Linked DNA regions of Homo sapiens: all the other regions are linked to region 1. Evidence: promoter capture Hi-C in 16 types of primary human blood cells and fetal thymus (Javierre and others, 2016). All regions are on one chromosome and are shown on one strand. Each heading gives the region's core, a stretch centred on a gene start or on the middle of the fragment in contact. The rest is flanking DNA. Distances are from core to core; before and after follow the strand shown. Region 1 holds the start of C15orf40 (chromosome 15 open reading frame 40). Region 2 overlaps AP3B2 (adaptor related protein complex 3 subunit beta 2). Region 3 holds the start of AP3B2 (adaptor related protein complex 3 subunit beta 2). Region 4 overlaps BNC1-AS1 (BNC1 antisense RNA 1). Region 5 has its middle 8.3 kb from the start of SNHG21. Region 6 overlaps BNC1 (basonuclin zinc finger protein 1).

The links. Contacts are between HindIII fragments. The CHiCAGO score rates a contact against its expected background, and 5 or more counts as called.
Region 2: a fragment that was not itself captured here is called in contact with the fragment with the promoter of C15orf40 in region 1 in 7 of 17 cell types (naive CD4 T cells, non-activated CD4 T cells, total CD4 T cells and 4 more); the score reaches 7.9 in naive CD4 T cells.
Region 3: the fragment with the promoter of AP3B2 here is called in contact with the fragment with the promoter of C15orf40 in region 1 in 11 of 17 cell types (naive CD4 T cells, monocytes, naive B cells and 8 more); the score reaches 8.0 in naive CD4 T cells.
Region 4: a contact is called between a fragment that was not itself captured here and the fragment with the promoter of C15orf40 in region 1, in 1 of 17 cell types (endothelial precursors). The highest score is 5.0, in endothelial precursors.
Region 5: a contact is called between a fragment that was not itself captured here and the fragment with the promoter of C15orf40 in region 1, in 13 of 17 cell types (naive B cells, total B cells, activated CD4 T cells and 10 more). The highest score is 12.7, in naive B cells.
Region 6: a fragment that was not itself captured here is called in contact with the fragment with the promoter of C15orf40 in region 1 in 1 of 17 cell types (endothelial precursors); the score reaches 5.2 in endothelial precursors.

What each region holds. Positions count from the first base shown.
Region 1 is chr15:83,009,339-83,013,477 of GRCh38, reverse strand. C15orf40 (chromosome 15 open reading frame 40) reads left to right here and starts at 1,839. Exons shown (of 4, transcript NM_144597.3): 1 at 1,839-1,981; 2 at 3,115-3,241. The coding sequence starts at 1,871. It overlaps LOC124903542 (a long non-coding RNA gene), which reads right to left and starts at 1,737. Exons shown (of 2, transcript XR_007064742.1): 1 at 419-1,737. RefSeq lists an enhancer at 1,602-1,661. The HindIII fragment of the contact is 2,628 bases long and covers 347-2,974 here.
Region 2 is chr15:82,688,956-82,693,094 of GRCh38, reverse strand. AP3B2 (adaptor related protein complex 3 subunit beta 2) reads left to right here. Exons shown (of 27, transcript NM_001278512.2): 2 at 3,642-3,717; 3 at 3,863-3,937. It overlaps CPEB1-AS1 (CPEB1 antisense RNA 1), which reads right to left. Exons shown (of 4, transcript NR_046096.1): 4 at 275-1,084. It also overlaps the pseudogene LOC100421235. Among named protein-coding and RNA genes, the nearest start is that of AP3B2, 19 kb to the left of the region's middle. The HindIII fragment of the contact is 3,152 bases long and covers 846-3,997 here.
Region 3 is chr15:82,708,154-82,712,292 of GRCh38, reverse strand. AP3B2 (adaptor related protein complex 3 subunit beta 2) reads left to right here and starts at 2,418. Exons shown (of 27, transcript NM_001278512.2): 1 at 2,418-2,699. The coding sequence starts at 2,587. It also overlaps the pseudogene LOC338963. RefSeq lists silencers at 2,365-2,414, 2,635-2,894. The HindIII fragment of the contact is 2,125 bases long and covers 1,820-3,944 here.
Region 4 is chr15:83,306,072-83,310,210 of GRCh38, reverse strand. The region is part of intron 2 of BNC1-AS1 (BNC1 antisense RNA 1); the gene reads right to left. Among named protein-coding and RNA genes, the nearest start is that of BNC1, 23 kb to the right of the region's middle. The HindIII fragment of the contact is 2,523 bases long and covers 473-2,995 here.
Region 5 is chr15:82,740,182-82,744,320 of GRCh38, reverse strand. No RefSeq gene overlaps it. Among named protein-coding and RNA genes, the nearest start is that of SNHG21, 8.3 kb to the left of the region's middle. The HindIII fragment of the contact is 255 bases long and covers 2,020-2,274 here.
Region 6 is chr15:83,278,378-83,282,516 of GRCh38, reverse strand. All of the region lies in intron 1 of BNC1 (basonuclin zinc finger protein 1), which reads left to right. Among named protein-coding and RNA genes, the nearest start is that of BNC1-AS1, 3.6 kb to the left of the region's middle. The HindIII fragment of the contact is 1,640 bases long and covers 1,341-2,980 here.

The sequences.
Region 1 (4,139 bases), core at 590-3,089:
TCCCAGCTACTCTGGAGGCTGAGGCAGGGAGAATTGCTTGAACCTAGGAGGCGGAGGTTGCAGTGAGCCGAGATCCCGCCACTGCACTCCAGCCTGGGCGACAGGCTCTTCCCATCCCCCTGTCTCAAAAATAAACAAAAATAAAATAAGGTAACTATAGATTGGGATCATAGATGATTTCACGGTCTCCCTTAACTGTCTACCGCTGGGTGAGTTGCAATAGTCAGCCCTTTGCCATTCTCAAGAGTCCCAATATACCTTCAACACCTCCCCCGCCTTAGTTAATGAAAGAAATTCCACCTCCCATCACCAAACCTACAAACACAGCTACATGTCCACCTAAGCTTTCCCTTAGGAAGGAAGGAGTGTCTAAGGCCTCCTGTAGAGAACTCAATCTCTACTTGAGCTCAGATCCTACCTCTTCAGGAACCGTCCTCTGCTGTAACCTCTCTTCTCCTGGCTCTTTCCTACCAATCTTCAAATATGATAAAAATAAGTCTCTGAATGTCATGTGCCCCTCCAGATACCAATTGCTCCTTCACAGTGAAGTCACTGGATTATTCTCTACAATTATCTCCATTTCCTTCTCTCCACTAAAACTGCTGTAGCCCGGGTCACCACCACCACCCTGATTTCTAAATCTTGTGGCCACTTCTCAGTCGTTACATGTGACATGTTCTCTCCAGAGTGTTCATCACTGTTGATGTTCCCTCTTGAAGCGCCCTTCTTTAGCTGCCGTTACACCGTACTCCTACCTGGTCAGTGTCCTTTGGTGACTTCTCTACCTGCCCTTGCTGTTCTAACCTGGGCCCTCGTGCTCTTTACACACTCTCTCATCCATTTCCATAGCTTCAATTGCCATCTGCTTTCAGAAGATTCCAGAATCTCTATCACCAGCCTTGATTTCGCAAACTCCAGTCACATATATTCAGTTACCCCTTTAACATTTGTATTTGGATGTCCTGTGGGCATCTCAAACTCATTATGTCCAAAGCTGAACTCCTCACCTCGGCCTCCCAAACCTGTTCCTTGGGCCCCAAACCTGGGCATTTCCTTGACTTTTCCCCCTTATTCGCACATGCAGTCATTCCCAAGTTCTGATCATTTCAGTTCCTGAAGATCCTTGAAATGATCAGCGCTCCACCCTCCCTGCGGTTACTCTAGTTCAGGCCACCCTCTCCCATTTAGGGGGCGGATCTCCCTGTCTCTGGCTTTTCCTCTGTCGGCCACAGTGCAGCCGGTGTCTTTCTAAAACCCAGCAAATTGGGCTGCTAATAATCCCTTGCTTGAAAGCCTTCAGTGACTCCATGATCTTGCCTCTGCTGATTTGTTTCATGTCTCTCCATATCACATGTCGCAGTGTATTTCCTCTTCTTTTACATTGTGGGATCCGCTGCGCCTGGCACAAGGTAGGTGCGCCATCGATACGTGGAAGATTCACAAGGGCCAAGCCGCCACGAGGCTCTATATCGACTTGATGGCCACAGGCAGCGCGTGGGACTCTGCATCTGCTGCTTGGCTGTGGGAGCGAGAAGACACCTGGCCCTGTGCACTCCTTGCCGCGCTCTCCAATTCTGAGAAGTGACAATACCTTTCTTTCCCCGATTAGGAAAGAGGTGACACACCTTCCTATCAGCTGAGCAGGGTGGGCCAAGACACGGTGAGGCCTCAGCTCCGCAGCTCCACTTCCTGGGGCTCGGCCCGTTCCAGAACAAAAGAGACTCGCGCATGTTCTGCGGCCACGAGACTCGCTCCCGCCGGCCTTAAGGTGTCGCCCTCTGGCCAGAGCGGATGCGCCGGGCGGTGGGGCCGCTCCTGCCGGCTACCTGCGCAAGCGCAGAGGGCTCTTCCGGCGCCTTCCCAGGCGGGGATGCTGCGGCTCCGCAGCGGGCTGAGGCACCTTCGGGCAACACCCAATACTCGGGGCTCCGCTCGGCTTCTTTGCGCCGAGATGCCTAAGAAGGCTGGTGCGACGACCAAGGCCAGTAGCAGGTCCCGTGGCGGCAGAGGGGTGGGCCTCAGGGGTACTTGTTGAAGAGCGCGGGAGAAGCGGGGCCCGGGAGTGAGTGGAGGCACTGCCAGCGGCTTGCCGTCTCTCAGTTCCGGGGCTCAGGACAGCCGCCGCCACCCCCAGAGCTGCGGCCTGCTGCCGTCGCCCCGCCTCAGTAGGCTGCGCTGCCGTCCACCTGGTGATTTCTGAGCGCTGGGCCCGGCGGCAGCCGAGCTCTCCTTGGGCTGCGTGTGCTGACCTTTGGCCTCCTACCCGCACTCCCAGTCCAGCAATTCATGTTCCCGCAGCGGCATGACCTGCGTTTCCCCAGGAGGCTGTATTCTGCTTTCTCCTCCCTTGCTTTGGCTGATCGCACCCCTTCTGTCAAGAATACAGCACTCCCATTTCCACCATCTTTGTTTGGCCAACCCCAGTCCGTTTCTCAGACTCAGCTCAAGCACTGCCTCCTGCTGGCAGCATTCTCCAGTGCCCCAATGCTGATTTGCCTGTGGGGTAATGTTCTGTGCCTATCTCATCGGTGCACTTAGCACAGTGTATTATAATTTTGTATGTTCTTTCTCCCTCGCAGCAGTCCGAGCTCCTTGAGAGCAAGGACCATGTACCTTTTCATCTTTACATATCCATTGCCTACATATTTGTTGAACGAAAGTTCCTAGCACAGCCCCTGTCCCATAACAGGCCTTTAAATATCAAGCACTATTTTTTTTTCCTCCCTTTCCCGCAACATGCAGACATACACACTTTCACCAACATTTATTAGCTCCGACTGCATGAGATACAATGATGAATAATAAATGATCCCTGCCCCCAAGGAATTGGAAATACAAAGCAGAGGGAGGAGCAAGCATTAAGGTTTAGAAGCCAGAGTTAGGTTTTCTTGCAAGGGGGGAAAAAACACTGTTGGGTTGATGGGAACCCTTCGTGGGAAAATTGAGTAGAGCCTTGAAGGTTGTGGGAAAAGCTTTCTAGGTGGCCAGAAGTCCCTGGACACCACTGATGAGCCTAGTTTGTCTGTTAAGGGTGAAAGGGGGTAGTGGAAGAATCAAATTAAATGTGTGGGAAAATATTTTGTAACCTGTAAAGTTGTGTGGTTGTCATTTTAGGGTAAAAGCCAGAGCAAGGAACCAGAGAGACCACTTCCTCCCTTAGGTCCTGTGGCAGTTGATCCTAAAGGATGCGTCACCATAGCCATCCATGCAAAACCTGGCTCCAAACAAAATGCTGTAACAGGTATACCTGGACACTGGGGTGGGATTCAAGTGTGAATCAGGTGTCTCCTACAGCCCTCCTTTGCTTTGGTTAGCTGAAAGCTTATTCTATGACAGTTGATTTTTCACATCTGCAGTTAGAGGCTTCTCCATTTTAAAATTCTAGATTCTAATGTAAAGGTGTCTTAAAGTGAATATATCTTTAAATCATGCCAAGTTACACGAAAACCATTGTATATTTTCCTCTTTAAAAATACAGTATTTTAGAAAGGACAGTTATGGAAACTTGTGTGTAGTCTGGATTATTCTTAGTTTGTCCTGTTCCAAAACTGGAGACATTGGCCAGAGAAAGAAGAGACATTTTAGTGTAGTTTAATGATCACTGGCCTAAGGAGAGGGAGAAAACTTGAGATCTGAGACCCGTGATCAGTTCCTGTGCGAATTTGTTTTAAATCAAAACAGTATAAAACATTCATGGGTCCAGTTTTTTCATCTGTCAGATGAGATCGTTGGACTAAGTTAGAGGCTTTCAGGCTATTCTCTGGAGTGCTGGAGGTGCCTCAGGAATCAGCTTTGGGCAAGGAGGAGGCCAGGCAGACAGGGCTCCTGACTAGCTCTGTTTACATTTGTTTTACATATTGGGATTCTGGAGAAAATTGGGGGAAGGGATTCTAAAGGAAAAAAAGTTCAAAAACCATTGCTCTAAATTCTTTTGAAGGTCTTTTTCACCTCTAAAGCTCTGTATTTCAAACCATTTTTAGATTTTGAAAGGAAAACCACAACATTGACGTGCTAGACCTGGTTTATGCTGATGACCAAGTTAACTTAGCCATACCCTCCTTGGCCAGCATTTTCTAAGTAGTGGGTGTGGACACTGTCTACGTTGGAGTATTATGTTTCATTAGATCTAAAATGGGAGG
Region 2 (4,139 bases), core at 1,172-3,671, 320 kb after region 1:
CAAACAGCTTTTATCATCGTCTCGTGGTGTTTATGTTTTGAAGTCCAATAGGGTGAGTTGTCTATGATTGTTTCCTTCTTTTCCCAAAAATATTCTTTGGAGTTCTTACCTACTGATTTTTTTTTTCCAGATGAATTTTGCTGTCACTTAAGTTTGACAAAATGTTCCCTTTGAAATTTCAAATTTTTGAAATGAAGTATGAGATCTAAAAAAAAAAAGAAACCTGTGTATTGGCTCAGCATTACCCTTATTCCTCTCAGCCAAGTGCAAGGGATCACTTACTCAAATCTTTATTCATCCCACTAGAGTTTAATGACTTCCTTGAATGGCTGTTCAATGTTCAGTGACAGGTCTGGCTTTTGTTGTGAGGCCATCTATGGAGTCTCTGGGACCCTTCCAGTCCCTGGAATCAGTTTGGTCTGAGAGGTCAGGACTTGGAAACATACTGGAGGCAGGGCAAGGGCACCCTGCTCTTGTTTTGGCATCTACCTCTTTTCCGCTGGTCCTTCTTATCCATCCAACTAGTCCTTTTCCCTGAGCCAGGTCCATACTTTCCCACCCCAAACCCTTCCTCTTGTTTCCTGGCTCTCTGTTTCTGGCTACATTCATTTCCTACACTCCTGTATCAAAAGTACCACAATTGCTTCTCGTTCCCACAGTGCAGTGCGGCTGAGCGCCTCAGAGCCCGCGGGGACGCTGCGGGGGGATTGCGGGGAGGGGGCGTTGGGAGGTGCCGATGTTGGGCTGGGCGGATGAGCGCATCTGCGTGGTGAGCCTTCCAACGTGCGCGAGAAGGACGTGGAAGACCTTTTCTACAAGTACGGCCGGATCCGCAAGATCAAGCTTAAGAATGGGCACTGCCTTGTGCCCTTCGCCTTGGTGCGCTTTGAGGACCCCCGAGATGCAGAGGATGCTATTTATGGAAGAAATAGTTATGATTATGGCCAGTGTCGGCTTCGTGTGGAGTTCTCCAGGACTTACGAAGTCGGGGTGGGTGGCCCCGTGGTGGGAGGAATGGGCCTTCTGCAAGAAGATCTGATTTCCGAGTTCTTGTTTCAGGACTTCCTCAGGCAGCTGGCAGGACCTGAAGGATCACATGCGAGAAGTTGGGGATGTCTGTTATGCCGATGTGCAGAAGGACGGTGTGGGGATGGTTGAGTATCTCAGAAAAGAAGACATGGAATATGCCCTGCATAAATTGGATGACACTAAATTCCACTCTCATGATAGTGAAACTTCCTACATCTGAGTTTATCCTGAGAGAAGCACCAGCTATGGCTACTCACAGTCTCGGTTTGGGTCAAGGGGCCGTGACTCTCCATACTAAAGCCGGGGTTCCCCACACCACTTCTCTCCTTTCAGGCCCTACTGAGACAGGTGATGGGAATTTTTTCTTTATTTTTTAGGTTAACTGAGCTGCTTTGTGCTCAGAATCTGCATTCCAGATTGAGGATTTAGCGTCTTAGGAAATTATTTTAATTTTTTTTTTTTAAAGAAGAAAAAAAAACTACATACTTTCTACCAGGGCCATATTAGCAGTGAAACATTTTAAACTGCAGAAATTGTGGTTTTGGTTCAGAAACAAGTTGTATATTTTTCACTCCTGAATATGGGTAAAAAATCAGTTCCGTCTTTGTGGGTTGCTCTGCTATGGAGATCAACAGTTACTGTGACTGAGTTGGCCCATTCTGCTTAAAAATATGTTTTAAACGTTTAAGAAAAATGCTCATCATCACTGGCCATCAGAGAAATGCAAATCAAAACCACAATGAGGTACCATCTCACACCAGTTAGAATGGCAATCATTAAAAGTCAGGAAACAACAGGTGCTGGAGAGGATGTGGAGAAATAGAAACATTTTTACACTGTTGGTGGGAGTGTAAACTAGTTCACCCATTGTGGAAGACAGTGTGGCGATTCCTCAAGGATCTAGAACTAGAAATACCATTTGACCCAGTGATCCCGTTATTGGGTATATACCCAAAGGATTGTAAATCATTCTACTATAAAGACACATGCACACGTATGTTTATTGCAGCACTGTTCACAATAGCAAAGACTTGGAACCAACCCAAATGTCCATCAGTGATAGACTGGATTAAGAACATGTGGCATGGCTGGGTGCGGTGGCTCATGCCTGTAATCCCAGCGTGGCTCATGCCTGTAATCCCAGCACTTTGGGAGGCCAAGACGGGTAGATCACGAGGTCAGGAGATCGAGACCATCCTGGCTAACACGGTGAAACCCCGTCTCTACTAAAAATACAAACAATTAGCTGGGCGTGGTGGTGGCGGGTACCTGTAGTCCCAGCTACTCGGTAGGCTGAGGCAGGAGAATGGCATGAACCCAGGAGGTGGAGCTTGCAGTGAGCCGAGATTGCGCCACTGCACTCCAGCCTGGGCGACAGAGCGAGACTCCATCTCACAAAAAAAAAAAAAAAAAAAAAAAAAAAGAAGAAGAAAATGTGGCACATATACACCATGGAATACTATGCAACCATAAAAAAGGATGAGTTCGTGTCCTTTGTAGGGACATGGATGAAGCTGGAAACCATCATTCTGAGCAAACTACTGCAAGGACAGAAAACCAAACACTGCAGGTTCTCACTCATAGGTGGGAATTGAACAATGAGAACACTTGAACACGGGGTGGGGAACATCACACACTGGGGCCTGTTGTGGCGTTGGGGGAGGAGGGAGGGATAGCATTAGGAGGAATACCTAATGTAAATGACGAATTAATGGGTGCAGCACACCAACATGGCACATGTATACATATGTAACAAAGCTGCACGTTGTGCACATGTACCCTAGAACTTAAAAGTATAATTAAAAAAAAAAAGTTTAGTAATTGAAAAAAAAAAGTACAACAATTGGGTTGGTTGGAACAGCAGAAATGAATTGTCTCACAGCTCTGGAGGCCAAAAGTCTGAACTCAAGGTGTCGGCAGGACCATGCTCCCTCTGAAACCCATAGGGAAATCCTTCTTTGCCCCTTCTAGCTTCTGGTTGTTTGCTGGCAGTCTCTGGCATTCCCTGGCTTGTAGACGCATCTTTCCAATCGTCTGCCTTCACATGGTAGTCTCCCTGTGTCTGTCTCTTTAAGTGGCTGTCTTTTGTTTTTTGTGTTTTTTTAATTTCAATTTAATCTATTTTTTGTAGACACATTGTTTCACCATGTTGCCAGGCTGGTCTCGAACTCCAGGGCTCAAGTGATCCTCCCGTCTCAGCTTCCCAAAGTGCTGGGATTACAGGCGTGAGCCGCCACACCCAGCCCACATGGCTGTCTTCTTATGGGAAACCAGACATGGGATTAGAGACCCACTCTATTAGAGTAGGATTGCATTTAACTAATTACATCTGCAACAACTCTATTTCCAAATAAGGTTACATTCTGAGGTACTAGGGGTTAAGACTTAAATATATCCTTTTTAGGAAGGACACAGTTCAACCCACAATATTAGCTGGCCACATGTTTCCCCTGATCTGTACTTTACTTGTTCCCCCTGGCTCTGGTCCCTCCTCGGGTCAGGTCCTGCCTGAGCCTCCCCTGGCCATGTCCCTTCTTTGTGCCTGGACCCTCCTGATTAATACCCCATCCCCACCCTTGTGCCCTCAGCTGACTTCTTGTACCTCCCACCAGGCATGATGACCTGAAGGAGATGCTGGACACCAACAAGGATTCTCTCAAGCTGGAGGCCATGAAGAGGATTGTGGCGGTAAGAGGGGAAGGAGGAGGCCTCCCTCCGGGCGGGGCCTGGGTGGCCAAGAGCAGCTCTCCTTAGCTCCTTGTAGACCTTCCCTCTAGTTAGTGCTGTGCCTCTCGCTTTGTCCCTCTTCCCCTACCTTGACCCCACCACCCAGATGATTGCCCGAGGAAAGAATGCTTCAGACCTGTTTCCCGCGGTGGTGAAGAACGTGGCCTGTAAGAACATAGAGGTGAGCACTACCTGGTGAGGGATTGCTTGTCCCCACCTCCCCCAGGACCACACTCAAGCTTGGGGTGAGGAAGGAAATGATTTAGCCCCTGGGGGCCCGACCTGCTGAGAAATGTCTCTGAGCCAGGAGAAGACACTGTCTCCATGTCCCTGAACTGGATGTGGATCAAGGTAAAGGACCCGGATACACTCAGGGGTGCTCT
Region 3 (4,139 bases), core at 1,169-3,668, 300 kb after region 1:
CAGGTACCAGCTGACACCCACCCAGTCCCTGGTGTTGCCTTCAGGAGCAGTGGCAAGATGGGAGCTGGTTGGGGAAGGGGATCCTAGCGCAGGGGGGAGGAGGAGAGAATGGAATGGCTGGACTTTGAGATGAGAAGACAGTTGGATGGGGAGGAGGCACCATTTGCTGGAACTGAAGGGTTCTCAGTAGGGGCTCGAGGCAGGATGTATCTGTGATATCTGGACCTCTGGAGTCCCTTAAGCACAAGGAGGCAAGTGTGTGGCAGTGAAGACATTCTGCCTTGGGCCCAAGCCCAAGACAGGTCTCCCTGAGCCCTGGGCAGACCATCCGACCTATGGTCATTGGAAGGACCCACCTCCTCCCTATCCCAGGCCTGTGTAAACGCCAGGAAGGCAGGTCCCTTTCTCCATGCAGGCCCTGACTGGGGCAGTCAGCACCATTAAGTTCTTCCTCTCTGAGGCTTTCCTGGGTCAACACTTCGAGGCTGTGTAGTTGGAGGGCAGGGAGCCTGAGCCAGGAGACGTCTTCCTGTTCAGGCTGATTCCCCCCACCTGACGCTGGTGCGGGGCCCACGTTGGCATATACTGTGGCCATGGAGAGATCATCCACTTTGAGGGTGAGTGCCTCCAGCAGAAACACAGGCCCAAGTCTGCGGAGAGGCTGCCCAGCCAAGCCACGCCCCACCAGTGAGCTGGCTACTCGGGGATAAAGACTGAAGTCCCAGGCTGGGGGTACGTTTCTCTGAAAATGGGGTTTGGGCACTCAGGGTCCCTGAGGTCTCAGGAAATGGGGGTGCGGGATCACAGGGCATAGGACCTAAGCCTGGCTCTGATCCGCACCCCTCTGGCGATCCCCGCAGGCAAGAACTCAGGAGGCTGTGGGCTCCTGGGAAGTTTCTGGGCTCCTGGAAAGGCATCGTATCCAAACAGGGGCAGCGCCCGCTGCTGCGCTCCTGCTGGCGCGTGCTGCGCAGAGTGAGCGAAGCGACGGACGCGGACCCACCATCCTATCACTCCATGCGCAGCAACTGTGTGCACTTTGCACTGTGTCTGCTCGTCCCAGGTCCCAGCCTGGACCCCCGGCAAATAGACGGGAGCTCCAGCAGGTCGGTGAGCGTGGCCCAGCTACCTGCACAGGACCCATCCCACCTCCTGAGCAGACTAGCCAAAGCGCCTTATAAACGCGCAACTGCAAAATCCAGGCCCTTCTCTTCCCACTCCCCACCCAGGCCAGTTTTCTCCAAATTCAAGATCCACTTTTCTCTGGCAGGCACAAAGCCACCGGAACCAAGCGGACCCACCCACTTGTCTAGGTTATCCCAACAGAACCTTCTCATTACCCCAATAGAACCTTACCCCAGTAGAATTACCCCCAATAGAACTTTTCTACTGAGCCAAGCTCCACCTTTCTGGGCCCCACTCCTTCCCAGGTAGGCCCGCCAATTCTGCCCATGGAGACTTCGGGATGCTAGTTACAGACCAAGACTCAGGCCTTAGGAACTCCTCCAGTCCCCATGCCCAGCTAAAAGACTCCAGCCACCTCAACTGATGCCCAACTGGATCCTACCTCTTCCCCCAGCCCAATTCACTACTTTCCATCGGATCCAAGCCTTCCTTCCTTGGGCCTAGGGGTCACTCGGGCTCGGGAGCTGAACTGGAGGGCTCACATGACTCAGGAGCCCTGGTGGTCACACCAGACCCTTCTCTTCCTTTTCAGGTGTCAATGGACGTGGACGTGTCCCCGGATTAAGCATGACCTTGGCCCTCCTGGGTGGACGTGGAGGCTTCAGAAAGATTCATTAAACTACTTTCCAAAGCTTAATTAGATGTTCACCGTCCTCTGTATCCTGTTTCCCATCTCTCTAAGCCCCCAAGGGCTCCTCGGAGCTCCCTGACCTTAATTCCTTAAATTCCGCCACCTCCAGGAAGCTCCTCGGCTTCCTGCTGCCAAGCCAGATTTTGTAGGAAAGGTGGGGCGGGAAAGGGAGCGTCCTTAGGTATCTGAGGCCGGTCCTCGGGTGCGGTGACCCCTTCCCGCTCTAGAACCCCCAGCCTGCGGGCACAGCCTTCTTTCCAGTTCCCGCTTTCCCTCCACGGCGTGGGTGAGCATCCGCGCGTGCGTCTGGGGAGAGCGGAGCCCCAGAGGCCCGTCCCGCCGAGGCCAGGTGGTCGGGGGTGGGGGCAGCTATTCCACATCCCCTGCAAGACGGTCCCAGCGTCCGTCCAGCAGACTCGCCCACCTTTAGATCTGGAGACGAGCCAAGTCGCTTTAAAGGGCAGAAGACGCCCTGAAGAGGGCATTTCCTAGGGATGGGCGGGGCCAGGCCCTGACGCACCGCCCCTGTCGCCTCCTCGCGGACACGCCCTCCGCTCGGCTGGCGCCGGTGCCTTTAAGACCTCAGCGCGCGGCCCTGATTGAGAAATCCGCGCGCAGCCTCCGCCGCTGCACACTGCAGCCTCTGCTGAACCCCTGCCGCGCCGCCGCCTTCGCCAGCCCGGACCGGACCGGCCCGCCTTCCCTTCCTCCGCTCCAGCCGGCCTCCGGCCCCGCAACCTCCTCCTCGGCGAAGTCTCCCTGGCCGCCCCATGTCGGCCGCCCCCGCCTACAGCGAAGACAAGGGCGGCTCCGCTGGCCCCGGGGAGCCCGAGTACGGCCACGACCCCGCGAGCGGCGGCATCTTCTCCTCCGACTACAAGCGGTGAGGGAGCCCGCCAGGAAGCTCGCGGGAGGGTTGGGGCCGGGGACCGGGCGAGGCGCGCGGGCACCATGGACAGCGCCCGGCCCCAGCGCCGGCCCCGCCCCGGCCGCGCCGACCGGAAGCCCGCCCGGCCCCCTCCTGCGGCCTGGAGCCCCGGCCCAGCGCGGGCAGCGCTGGCACCCCGGCTCCAGGGGCCGGCCTAGGACGCGGAGGGGGGCAGATAGGGGCTGGCGGGGGATGGGCCAGCTCAGTTTCGAGAGGAGAAACCCTCCGGTTCCAGGTGTTTCTCCGGTTTGCGGCGTTGCGTTAGGGGTTCCCTTCCTTTTTCGTGCTAGGCGGGTTGGCTTCCCAAAAATGTGGGGGAGGGGTCTGAGTCAGCGAACTTGAGCTTGAGCCTGGGGCCTCTTCAGGAAGGCGGGCCCTGGATGTACTTGCACAGCCTCCCAGCTTGGCCCTGCTGCAAATTCATTTCCCCTCCCTCTGGTCCCCATCTCCATCTGACCCTCACATCCCTGCTCCTGGCATTGCCCCTGTAGTTCAGCTCCACCTTCACACCCTCCCCCACCTTTGATTCGTTCGTTTGTTTCTTCATTTGTTTATTCGTAAATTCTGCAACAAGCATTTATGAAAAGCCAACTGTGTCGAGTCCTGAACTAGTCACGGAATACAACTGTGAACATGAGACCCTTCTTGTCCTCACGATGCTCTAGAGGGGAGCACAGATGAAGAAGCAGTCAGGGACAGTCGAGTGTAATGGGGGCAGTGGGAGCAGGGAGAGGACCTAGTCTCTGGCGCCGGAGAGAAGGAAGACAGGAGCGTGAGGTATGTTCCAGGCAGAGGAAAGGGCTTTCAGGAAGGTTGAGAGCCAGGCCACAATCTGTGTGAGCCACTGGACTGACCAGAAAAGAGGGTGGGGAGGACTCCTGAAGGATTCTAAGCAGGCGACATAATCAGATTTATATTTTAGAAGGACGTCAGGCTGCTGCATTGTGGAGAAGAGATTGGAGGTGGGCCAGATTGAACAAGAGACAAGGGAGGTGGGTCTTGAAGTTCACAGGCCTGGCATGATTGTGGCCTAGACCAGGGGAGAGGCAGAAGATTTGAGGCTGTGGAAGAGGTGGAAGCCTCAGACCTGATGATTAATTGGATATTGGGTGGGGGTTTAGAGGGACAGGGGGAGAAGATGAGGATTTTCACGCACGTCCATGTGAAGAGACCACCAAACAGGCTTTGAACAATAAAGCTTTTTAATCACTTGGGTGCAGGCCAGCTGAGTCCGAAAAAAGAGTCAGCGAAGGGAAATGGGGTGGGACCGTTTTACAGGATTTGGGTAGGTAGTGGAAAATTACAGTCAAAGGGGGTTGTTCTCTGGCGGTGGGGGGACACAAGGTGCTCAGTGGGGGAGCTTTTGAGCCAGGATGAGCCAGGAGAAGGAATTTC
Region 4 (4,139 bases), core at 485-2,984, 300 kb before region 1:
CTCCAGGTGATTTGAATGTGCAGCAAAATGTAAGAATCACTACCCTTGAGAAAGGAAACTAGCTGAAAATCTATGACCCAGGGTGTGTTCCACAAGGCACGCTTTTCTCTAAATTAGCTGTTTCCCTTTACCTGACGCTAGGCCACATGGACAATGGAAGGGGCACCTACTTCACCAAGACCCTCACATTCAACCTACCCTGATGGACTCCAGGCCAAACTCCCCAAACTATCCCTGGTGATTTGGGAGATAATGATCCCTTTTGAAATGATGGGTTAGGGCCATTTTCTAGAGCTTTTAGTAGTTGACAGGTGATTTGGCCACAAGCACAGAGTCAATCATCTTGTATTAGGCATGAGGTGCCTTTTCATTTGATTCATATTAGATTTATAACAACATCATGAAGAAGGTATTACTCTCCCATTTTATAGATGGGAAAATGGTGACACTTAGCTCTGGGGCTATAAAAGCTTTACTGTACACTCAGTAAGTCAGGCTATGGTTGATTTTATTTCAATAAACATTTGGTGGCTGTTATGATGCCTGTGGAGAGCTACATCCCAGAACAGCCCCGACAATTGTTTACAGCCAGCATGTGCTCTGATTGTTCAGTTCCTGTGTCACATTGGACAGTAAATACTTGAATTTAGAGTCATTGGACTTGTATTAGGCACCAGGCAGTTTTATCATGTCTTTTATAACTAAAGTGATAAGATGTGGTCCCAGTGCCTCAAGGCTCAAGCATCGAAGGGGAAACAGACACTGAAAACTTTGCAATAGGATGTAATGCATCATAGAAAAAGATGGAAACTGACCAGACGCAGTGGCTCACGCCTGTAATCCCAGCACTTTGGGAGGCTGAGGTGGGCGGATCACCTGAGGTCAGGAGTTCCAGACCAGCCTGACCATCATGGAAAAACCTCGATTCTACTAAAAATACAAAAAAATTAGCCGGGTGCGGTGGCGCATGCCTGTAATCCCAGCTACTGGGGAGGCTGAGGCAGGAGAATCGCTTGAACCCAGGAGGCAGAAGTTGCGGTGAGCCAAGATCGTGCCATTGCACTCCAGCCTAGGCAACAAGAGCGAAACTCCATCTCAGGAAAGAAGGAAGGTAGGAAGGAAGGAAAGAAGGAAGGAAGGAAGGAAGGAAGGAAGGAAGGAAGGAAGGAAGGAAGGAAGGAAGGAAACTGAGTGTTATGAGAGCATCAAGCATCTATCTCTACCTCTGCAACACCAAAGAAGTCTCCACACAGCAAGAGATATTTAGACCTACATCTTGAAGGATGAGTAGGAGTTTCTCAGGCAGAGAAGTGGCTAGGTGGGTGAAGGTACTTGCTGAGCAAAGGCACGGAGGTACACCAACGCACGGCATGTTAGGAAAACTTGGCTTGGAGTCAGGAAAAGAATTGCAGATTCCCTTGAAGGTCAGTTTATCCTGCTTATCTATAAACTTAATGGTTCCGAATGGCCTTAATTATTTTTTCAGTATTTGGACCGTCAGGTCTGTTGTAGATGAGTTTCCCAGCTGCAGAGATAGAACTCACTATTGTGGCAACATCCCTAGTCTTTTACTGAGCACCTTTCTCCTTTCAAATAGCATTCCAGAAATCTGAAAGTGTCCCTTATCTCTAGCAGAAAGTAATCTATTTTTCTCTCCCACTACAGTCAAGAGTACAGTGGCATTGCCAATTATCTTATATTAGCTGGTGCCAATGGCAGCATTATTTTTTAAAAAAATCATAGGAAGAGATGGAAATCTCAGAAAAGGAACACACAATGTAACACTAATACTTTGGATATTTCTTTTTTTTTTTTTTTTTCTTTTGAGATGGAGTCTCGCTCTGTCACCCAGGCTGGAGTGCAGTGGTGCTATCTCGGCTCACTGCAAGCTCCATGTCCCGGGTTCACGCCATTCTCCTGCCTCAGCCTCCTGAGTTGCTGGGACTACAGGCGCCTGCCACCACACCCAGCTAAATTTTTTTTTTTTGTTTGTATTTTTAGTAGAGACAGGTTTTACCGTGTTAGCCAGGATGGCCTCGATCTCCTGACCTCGTGACCTGCCTGCCTCGGCCTCCCAAAGTGCTGGGATTACAGGCGTGAGCCACCGTGCCCGGCCTGGATATTTCTTTAAAATTTTCTTGAGACGACCATAATCTGTCATTCCACTAACACATTAGTGTCTGTAATTCCTCTTAGCATGTCTTTTAAAATCCATCCTTTGTACCTTACTGTGGACATCTTTTTTAATGCTATGGAATACAGAAATTGTGGATTTTTAATATTCAGACTTAGTGAATTATCTAAATGAGCTCACACAAGGCTTTCACTTGATCTAATTATGGTTACACCTTCCAATGCATCATCAGAAGTAGCATTGTCCAAGATCAGCCAAGACATCTGTGCATGAGCCTGCTCTCCCCTTTTCACGTGCATGTGTTTTAGCCTGGAGTGATGTACATGACTTTGATATTCTTCAATATTTTCAAGCGGGAAGGTCTGTACAAGATTAATTACAAACTTAGGGCCTAGTGTAACCCAGTCTCTCATTATCATTAATGAACCTCTTCTTCTGTACTAAGAAGAGACCTCTAATTGGGTTTATTTCTTAGAGTAGATATAAAGGTATCCCTCAGAAGTTTACTGTGATGACCCATTATGTGAAGTCAACCTGCTAATCTATGCAAACTGGAGGATCCACTGAGAATAATAATTTTTTGTCACATTAGTCTGTTGGGGGAAGCCACAATGAAAATCTACTGCATCATAATATATACTTGGTTGATTAATCTGTAAGTACAACTTGGCTTTAAATTATTCATGATAATAGCCCTTAATATACTAGTTTACTGTGGCATATTTTGTATCAGTAATGGAGATCTCAATCCTTTAAGAACATATTACAATTCTCCACTATTAAATCTTCCCTGAGAGGTGGGGTAAGAGCCTGACCAGGACTTTCATGGGAATGTCATGTTTGCAGCATAATAATCAAGCTTTACTGTTCTGAAGAGACTTTCATCCTAAGGATCTCAAAGCACTTTATGAGCCTTCATTAGTGCCAGGAATACCCTGAAGGCACCAGCGTTTTACTATCTTCATTTTATAGGTGAAGAAACAAGACCAGCTGATGAAGTGACTTGCCCAAGGTCACATACCCTATCAAAAGGACATCTTGGAGGGCACAGGTAGATTTAAGTCGTGACTGTTTTTCTTCAGCCTTACAAGACACTATTCATGTGTCTTTTGAGCTAGAGAACCATGGCCATGGCTTTCAACGTTTAGGTGACCTTCATCCATCCTCAATCCCCTTAATAGGCCCTCAGTGCCTGCTGAAGGGAGGAATAAACCATAGTCTTACTGGTGCTTCCAAGTCCAAAAAATTCCTTATTAGTTACTCAAACTCTTTTATTTGAAATTTCTCTCCCACTATGTATGGCTTGAGGAAGACTCTTGTGAAGTATGCTAAATATGCCACTGCTATCACTTTCACATTTGCACACTCTAAGAAGAATGGAGTGTTTGGGAATGCTTATTCTTAAGAAAAGCGATTTCCATCTCCCATACATATTATTATAGGATTGTAATAAAGGACTTTTGCTTAAGTTATATTCTGCTGTTGCGTTGGAAAGTTCTAAATAATTAAGTGGTAGGTTTCTCCTTATAAATCTGGCTCTTCTTTCTAAACCCTCAAGCTTCAAGAAAACTGAGGAGCTTTTTAAAAATTACTTTTTATTGCTGGTGACATCTATAATATGGGTCCTACTTTGAGGTGGGGGAGGGGATCTTTTTTGTTTGTTTTGCTTTAAATGTGTGTATTTGATCCCAGCTCAGCTTTACATTTAAACATTTTAAAAGTGCATGCACTCCCAATTGTGTGGAATGCCAGGAAACGAGTTCATTCTGCGAGGAATGAGCTTTCAGCTCTGTCCTTTGTGACAGATTCCAGAGCGTCTCTACCTTAAGGCAGGCGGGTCACCGGGCCGCTTCAGTGACCCCCCCCTAACCTGTACCAGGCTGCCGGCAAGCACTCCTGTCAGCTCTGTTTACTCTGGCAAGACTGATGGCATCCAGGTGGATTTCCCAACCCCCGTGCCTCCTCATTCTCCGCCCCCACTTCTCCTCTCCAGCCCACGACCACG
Region 5 (4,139 bases), core at 898-3,397, 270 kb after region 1:
CCTGGCTCATTTTTTGTATTTTTAATAGAGACGGGGTTTCAACATGTTGGCCAGGCTGGTCTTGAACTCCTGACCTCAGATGATCCACCCGCCTTGGCCTCCCAAAGTGCTAAGATTACAGGTGTGAGCTACTGCACCTGGCCCCCTCTAGTTTCTTTCGGGATTTTTTTCTTTATCTTTGATTTTCTGTAGTTTGAAAATTATATGCCTGGTTGCAGTTTTCTGTTTTTGTTTTTTATATTTATCTGCTTAGTGTTCTCTGAGCTTCCTGGATCTGTAGTTTGGTGTCTGACATTAATTTGGAGAAACTCTCAAGTCATTATTCTTTCAAACAATATGAATAATTTATTCTATTCCTTTCTTTTCTCTCCTTCTGGTATTCATAATATGCATATGTTATATCTTCTGTAGTTGTTCCATAGTTTTTGGATAGTCTCTTCTGTTTGTTTGTTTTTTTTTTGTCTTTGTTCTCTTTTATTGCCAGTTTGAAAGCTTCCTATTGGCTGGACATGGTGGTTTATACCTGTAATCCCAACACTTTGAGAGGCCAAGGCAGGTGGATTGCCTGAGCTCAGGAGTTCAAGACCAGCCTGGGCAACACGGTGAAATCCCGTCTCTACTAAAATACAAAAAATTAACCGGGTGTGGTGGTGTATGCCTGTAGTCCCAGCCTGGGCAACATGGTGAAACCCCATCTCTACTAAAAATACAAAAAATTAGCCGGGCGTGGCATCATGCGCCTGTAGTCCCAGCTACTTGGGAAGCTGAAGCAGGAGAATTGCTTGAACCTGGGAGGTGGAGGTTGCAGTGAGCTGAGATCACGCCACTTCACTCCAGCCCAGGCAATGAAGTGAGACTCCATCTCAAAAAAAAAAAAAAAAAAGAAAAAAAAGGTTTCTGTTGATATATCATCATATATCATATCTTTCCTCACCATGTCCAGTCTATTAGCCCATCAAAGACATTCTTCATTTTCTATTCACAGTGTTTTTTATCTCTTGCATTTTTTTTGGTTCTTTTTTGTTTTTATTTTATTTTGTTTATTTATTTATTTTGGAGATAGAGCCTCACTGTTACCCAGGCTGGAATGCAGTGGCATGATCTCGGCTCACTGCAACCTCTGTTTCCTGGGTCTGGGTTCAAGAGATTCTTGTGCCTCAGCCTCACAAGAAGCTGGGACTACAGGCACGCACCACCACCCCCTGCTAATTTTTTTGTATTTTTAGTAGAGACAGGGTTTCGCCATGTTGCCCAGGCTGGTCTCGAACTCCTGAGCTCAGGCAATCTGCCCCACTTCGGCCTCCCAAAGTGTTAGGATTATAGGTGTAAGCCACTGCTCCCAGCGTCTTTTTGGTTCTTTCTTAGGATTTCCATCTCTCTGTTTACACTGACCATCTGTTCTTGCATGCTGTCTACTTTACCCATTAAAGCTGTTAGTATATTAATCAAAGTTGTTTAAAATTTCTTGTCTAATAATTCCAACATTCCTGCCATGTCTGGTTCTGATGCTTGCTCTGTCTCTTCAAAATGTGTGTTTTGCCTTTTAGTTTGCCTTGTAATTTTTTCTTCATAGCTGGACAGGATGTACCAGGGAAAAGGAACTGCTGCAAATAGGCCTTTAGTAATGTGGGGGTAAGGTGTGGGGAGAGGGAAAGTATTCCTCTATGAACCCTATGATTAGGTCTCAGTCTTTTAGTGAGCATGTGCTTCTGGAATGTGAACTTTACAAGTGCTTCTCAGTTTTTTTCTTCCCCCTTAGGTGGGACAAGATGGCCAGAGTGGGCTGGCGTTGGGCATTTTTCCCTTCTCCCAGGCCAGTTAGGCTCTGATAAAACTCCAGCCATTTAGGCTCTGATTAAATATTTCTCCCGAGGGCAGACTTTGTTAAGAACAGCATGCTCTGGCATGTTTCGAAATGGTTCTTTTTCTTCTTCTCCTGCTAGAAGCATGACAAGATTTTTCTCTAATATTTATTGTGAGAACCTGGTCAAACTCTTGGAGGTAAAACTCACAGAAGCTTGGGTTCTCCCTCCCCTGTTTCTGGTTTCTTCTGGAATTTTTGACTCTCAGACTTGTCTACACTTGCCTCTGGCAATTCAATTACAGTTCATGTTTTTCTGCCCTGGCATTGGTTCCTTTGTGGAGATTTCTGCTCTGGGTAGCTTGTGACTTTTGTACATACCTGTCTGCCTCTCCAATTTTGGGGATAGTGGTTTGCCCTGTGACCTCACTTTTCTTCTGGATTTAAGAAAAATTATGTCAGTTCGTTAAGCTTTTCTTTCTTTTTTTTTTTTCTGAGACAAAGTGTTGCTCTGTTGCCCAGGGTGGAGTGCAGTGGCGTGATCTCACCCATCTTTATTTCACATTGGAAGTATTCCTCAAATGTCTGGAGTGGGGGGGTCTTGACTGTTTATATTTTTTAATGAAGTAATAAGTGGATTACGAGCTCTCTTGTGTGGAACTTTTCTGATGGCCAAGATGATGGGACAGGAATGCTGACATTTTACTGTAATGGGTAGAATGCAGGGGATTTTCTACGGAGCCCTTAGATTTATTTCCAGAATAACGTTTCAGCGTGATGTGTGAATGTATGGGAAATTCTGGATGGTCTGTGTTCCTCCTATCACACCTTCACCCTGGGGGTAGATTCTTGGCTGTAAGGCATTCTGCATGCAGAGGTGGAAGGGAAGGAAAACTGTTTCATATGTGGAATCTTGGCCTTATATCTCATTCCTGTACTCAGTTGTCTCTGATATTTCCTGGTTCTGGACCCTTCTAGCATTCCGTAGTGTGAATTGTTTTTTTCCTGGGGTATATCTTCCACCCTCTGCAGTTTCTTCTGCTTCCCCCCCGCATCAGTATCATTCCTTCATCAGCTATCTTCCAAAATTTCTTTGAAATCTCTGATCTACTAATGATCTTTTCCCCATTCTCTTGTTTAGATCTTTATGTTTCTTTTCCCATTCTCTTATTTATATCTTTATGTCTCTTTTTATTTCTTAAGTATGATTTTAATGAAACTTAGGAGGGTGAGATGATAAATCATGTTTTCAATTTTAACAAGGCAAAAACAAGCTCATCAAGCATTCACTGGTTGGGCGCTGTGGCTCACACCTGTAATCTCAGCACTTTGGGAGGCCGAGGTAGGGCAGATTGCCTGAGCTCAGTAGTTCAAGACTAGCCTGGCCAACATGGTGAAACCCCATCTCTACTAAAAATACAAAAATTAGCCAGGCGTGGTGGCTCACGCCTGTAATCCCAGCACTTTGGGAGGCTGAGGTAGGGCAGATTGCCTGAGCTCAGGAGTTCAAGACCAGCCTGGCCAAGATGGTGAAACCCCATCTCTACTAAAAATACAAAAATTAGCCAGGTGTGGTGTTGGGCGCCTGTAATCCCAGCTACTCGGGAGGCTGAGGCAGGGAGAATGCTTGAACCCGGGAGGTGGAGGTTGCAGTGAGCCTAGATCGCACCACTGCGCTCCAGCCTGGGTGTCAGAGTGAGACTGTCTCAAAAAAAAAAAAAAAAAAGAAAAGAGTTCACTGATTAAATTATGGTCTATTCATACAGTAGAATACTAGACATTCATTTAAAATGATGCAAGCAGGCTGGGCGCGGAGGCTTACACCTGTAATCCCAGCACTTTGGGAGGCCGAGGCAGGTGGATCACCAGAGGTCAGGAGTTCGAGACCAGCCTGACCAACATGGAGAAACGCCATCTCTATTAAAAATACAAAATTAGCCAGGGGTGGTGACGCATGCCTGTAATCCCAGCTACTCGGGAGGCTGAGGCAGGAGAATTGCTTGAACCCAAGAGGCAGAGGTTGCGGTGAGCCGAGATTGTGCCATTGCACTCCAGCCTGGGCAACAAAAGTGAAACTCTGTCTCAAAAAAATAAATAAAATAAATAAAATGATGCAAGCAGCTGGGCACAGTGGCTCACACCTGTAATCCTAGCACTTTGGGAGGCCAAGGCAGGTGGATTGCCTGAGCTCAGAAGTTCGAGACCACCCTAGGGAACATGGTGAAACCCGGTCTCTATTAAAAATACAAAAAATTAGCCGGGTGTGGCGTTGTGCATCTGTAATCCTAGCTACTTAGGAGGCTGAGACAGGAGACTCGCTTGAACCCGGGAGGCAGAG
Region 6 (4,139 bases), core at 911-3,410, 270 kb before region 1:
TTTGTACATCATATAAAAGAACATTACTTCAGATGTTACAAATTGTACTGGATTTGATTTGCTCTTTAAAGAGGTGTGAAAAGATGGCTTCTCCTTTTGTGATGATGAATTTTAAGAAATAACTTTATTCTTTTTGGCATACTTTCAGATGGTTAAAACGAATAAGATACGAGTCATCGTTTGATTTCTCATCTAATAAGTTTGCTAACTAATTTCACCAAGAAACTATTACTATTTCAAGTCAACTGTTGGTTGAACGTGTTCCTGTTGTAGTTAAATGCTGAGAAGAGGTGGTGAAATCTTCACCTAGCACACATGATGCTCACACTTTGGGAACTCGTAATTATGTTCAGGCATCTGCATAATTTAATTTGAATATCATCTGTACCTATAGTGTCCCTTCAGACTAGTAAGGATTTAGGGACATTCTCCTCCTTCAGAAAGTGGTTAAAGTTCTTTGGCCATTGATACCTACAGTGATCTGTTTGCTGTGGTTATAATTCTCATTAGAAATATTGACTAACATGAAGTAATTGCCTTGGAAGCATGAGATTTACTGGAGGGCTATTTTATGTTTTATTGCATCTCCCCCATGTAGCAGTTAGGCCTGCATCCCAGGCCCATGCCCACTTTCTGTACCTCAAGATCATCAGATTGGAAAGACGATCCAACCCGATAGATGAGAGAGAAAAGCCATACAGGTTTCCCTGTGGAACAAAGTAGTTGTCCCTAAGCACACATTTGTCATTTATGAATGCCTAGGGATAAGTATAAACAGGGAAACATTTTAAAAGTTCAATTTGTCAGTAAAATTAAACTGCAGCTTATGGAGTGGGGGGCAGAAGTGTCTTTTAGCTTCTGTATGTGGCTTTAGAAGTAATTTTGATGTGGCCATTAAAAGGGATGCCCTGAAGGTTCCACAGGGTAAATTACTTACAGGAGTGTGCTTCACCCCAGGGTGAATTTTCTCCTCTACAGATGTCATTTAGAGTGGGTTACTTTTGTCAGAAACTGTCCTTTTTAGAAGGAACTGAAAATACCTTAGCTAAGGTAAAATCTCAATGATGAGCCACCCATCTTTTTAGTATCTAAAATCAAGATTTTAGGGAGTTGGTACTTTTCTTTTAATTACGTAATTCCAAGTGTTCTACTGCAGAGTTTTTGTTTCTTTATTTTTGATGACTTCTCTGAGAGATGTTAAAGATAACTGGATTCTGCTCAAAAGAAGCATCTGGAAAGCATTTCTTTTTCCTTTTAAACTGGTTTCCACCTGAAAACCTTATTTCTGCATATCTTGTCATTCTTTGAAGTCCTTTTCCTAATTCTGGAAATTCCAAGCTTCCACTGTGGCACCATTTCTCTGCACGGACACATGCCTATTTCAGCCGAAGAGGGTGGGTATAAACAGAGAACAGACTTGTTTCTCCAGGGTCCAATTTTGGGCCTTCTCAAACCTCACATAGTTAGTTATCGGCAAACAGACTGTCACTCTTGCCGTCTACACATGGACTCATTATTATAAACCAGCCTAACAAATCACAGGAGGACTCTGCCTTGGGGAAATGATAATTTCATTCAACTAATGTGAAACAAAAGAGAGATGGAGAAATAAAATGTGAGGGTCAGGTCCAAACAGCCCTGTCCATAGGGAAATAGTTGCCTCAGGTAAACTCTTAATTCAGGGTTCTAACATTTTTTCATATAGTTAGATTAGTTTGATGGTCTCCTACAGATTATTTGTGTGATCCTACCAAATACTCAAACCTCAAATTTCTTTTCTAGTTGTACATCAGCTTCCGGAAGTGTTGTCCTTTTTCTGTAGTCCTCTAATTGTTTCTTGCATTATTCATTATGAAGGTAAAATTTTTATACTGTCAACTCTTAGCATTTCATGATACTTCACACTGAATTTGAAGCAAGGGATCAGGATGGCATAATTAACTAAGTTTGATCTTTTCTTTTTAAAAACTTAGTTTCAAAAACCTAGTTCTCAATGAGTCCCCAAAAGAATGTTTTACAAAATCTTACTTAGAAATGTTCACAATTTCGTCTTTATTTTGTATCAGCAGCAGTAGTGAAGTTGCATTGCTTATGTAACTTAGGTAAAATTATGCTAAAGTGTAAGTGTTTTGCTCTGTATTTTTTTCCTCAGGCTGATTCAACTATGTTCGGAAAGTTCCCTTTACATGCAATTAATATCTTTTGGTTTTTTGTTATCAAAGGTTTCTAAAGATTACCTCTGAGGTTTCCCAAATTAGGTTATAAAGGAAAAAATATATCCATATAATTTACATTTCTGTACAGTTCTTAAATTTTTTTAAAGAAGAAATATTTGGCTTGGCTTTTAAGGTAGTGTTTGCATGTTTTTCAGCTATTTCATAGATTTTCAGTTTTTGAAACTAATAATTTTAAGAAAAAAAGCACAGACATTAAATTATTTTGGCACACAGTTTATACTTTGATTCATAGACATCAAAAGAACAAGTATTTTCCCCATCACAGTCTTTGAACTAAGCAGCTAGAGAACACTACAAATGTGTCATGCATACTTTAAACTCACAGGTAGACTCAGCCCAATCAATATCTGTCACTTGAAGGAGCTCTACCTCCCACCTGCCCTTTCTCTGCCAGACCCTTCTCCATGCCCTCAGTCTTTGGTCTCTCATTTCATCCTCATACTTGGAGTGAGAAACCAGATTTTGTCCATTCTCCTTTAGTGTTGTGTTTATATTGCAAATGCTGACTACCTGGTTTCTGAGGCTCCCCACATCTCCTTTTAACCATGCTTGTGGTAAACAGTGCCTCCCCATTGTAGAAAGCCAATGATCCTATGAACCCAATAAAGAGACTCCTGGCTGCTCATCTGGACAGCCCAGGCCCACCTTATTTTGTCTTTCAAGGTAGGTCTCACTGCCCGTAACAGAGACCTGTGCTCTGTGGCCCAGGCTCCTTGGCCTGACACATATGTACATGTTAAGCTTTACATTGTACCTAGGCTTGTGGTATTTCTTGCATGCACTGATGAGAGCATGCCTTCTTCCTGGAGGAAGCCCTCTCTGGCCTCTCTGTACAACCTTGACTTCTCCATTTCTCCTATCCCACTCAAACTATTTAATTTGGGGGAGAGTAGGAGTTTGACTTATTTTTTTCACTTTTTATTATAGAAGATTTCAAACAATCAAAATTAGAATGAAACTTGATGTAATATGTGCTTGGGGATTCAACAGTTACCAACTTTGGGCCAGTCTCATTTCATCTGTATTTCCTACCCATCATAACCAACACTAGATTACTTTAAAGCAAATCCTAGGCATTATATAATTTCATTCATATATATTATAATATGAAGCTCTAAAATACAAAGGCTCTTTTTTAAAAAACCAGGGCAATATACCATAGAGCACCTAAAAAATTAACAATAACTGTAATGTCATTAAATTTCTAATTGGTGTTCAAATTTCCTTGATTACCTGACAAACTTTATATTACAGTTGGTTTCTTCAAATCAGGATTCAAGTAAGGTCCGTACATTGTCTTTTTTAATATATAGGTTCATACTTTACTTTTTTCCTTGCAATTTATTTGTTGAAAAAGCTGGATCATTTGTCCTGTAGAGTGCTCCCTGGTCTGAATTTCAATGATTATTTCCTTGTAGTATCATTTAAACATTCCTGTATCTCCTGTATATTCTTAAATTGGAGTTGAGTAAGAGGCTTGATCCAATTCAGGTTTGAACTTTTTTATCAAGAACACCATATGTGTGGTGGTATGTATCCTTCAGTCCAGAGACAAATGGCCTCCTATTTTTCATTAGGAGTTGCGGAATGGTGATACTCCAGTTCTTCATTTATTTGATCCACATTCAGAGATAATCTTTGTCTCATCAATGATTTTTTTACCCTGAAATACAGGTTATATAGCAAAGGATACACATTTGATTTTTTTCCTTTGTTTACCAATTTTCAGAATAGTTAGTTGGTTTCCTAGCATTTTCTAAAAGTGGCCAATGAGTTTTGTTTGTTTTGAGTATATTTTGAATTCCTAGATTTTAACACAGTGAATGACTCATGCTAATTTTTGACAAATCATATTCTCTACTCTGCTGTTTTTGACCAACCCAGTTGTGTGATTTTTTCTTG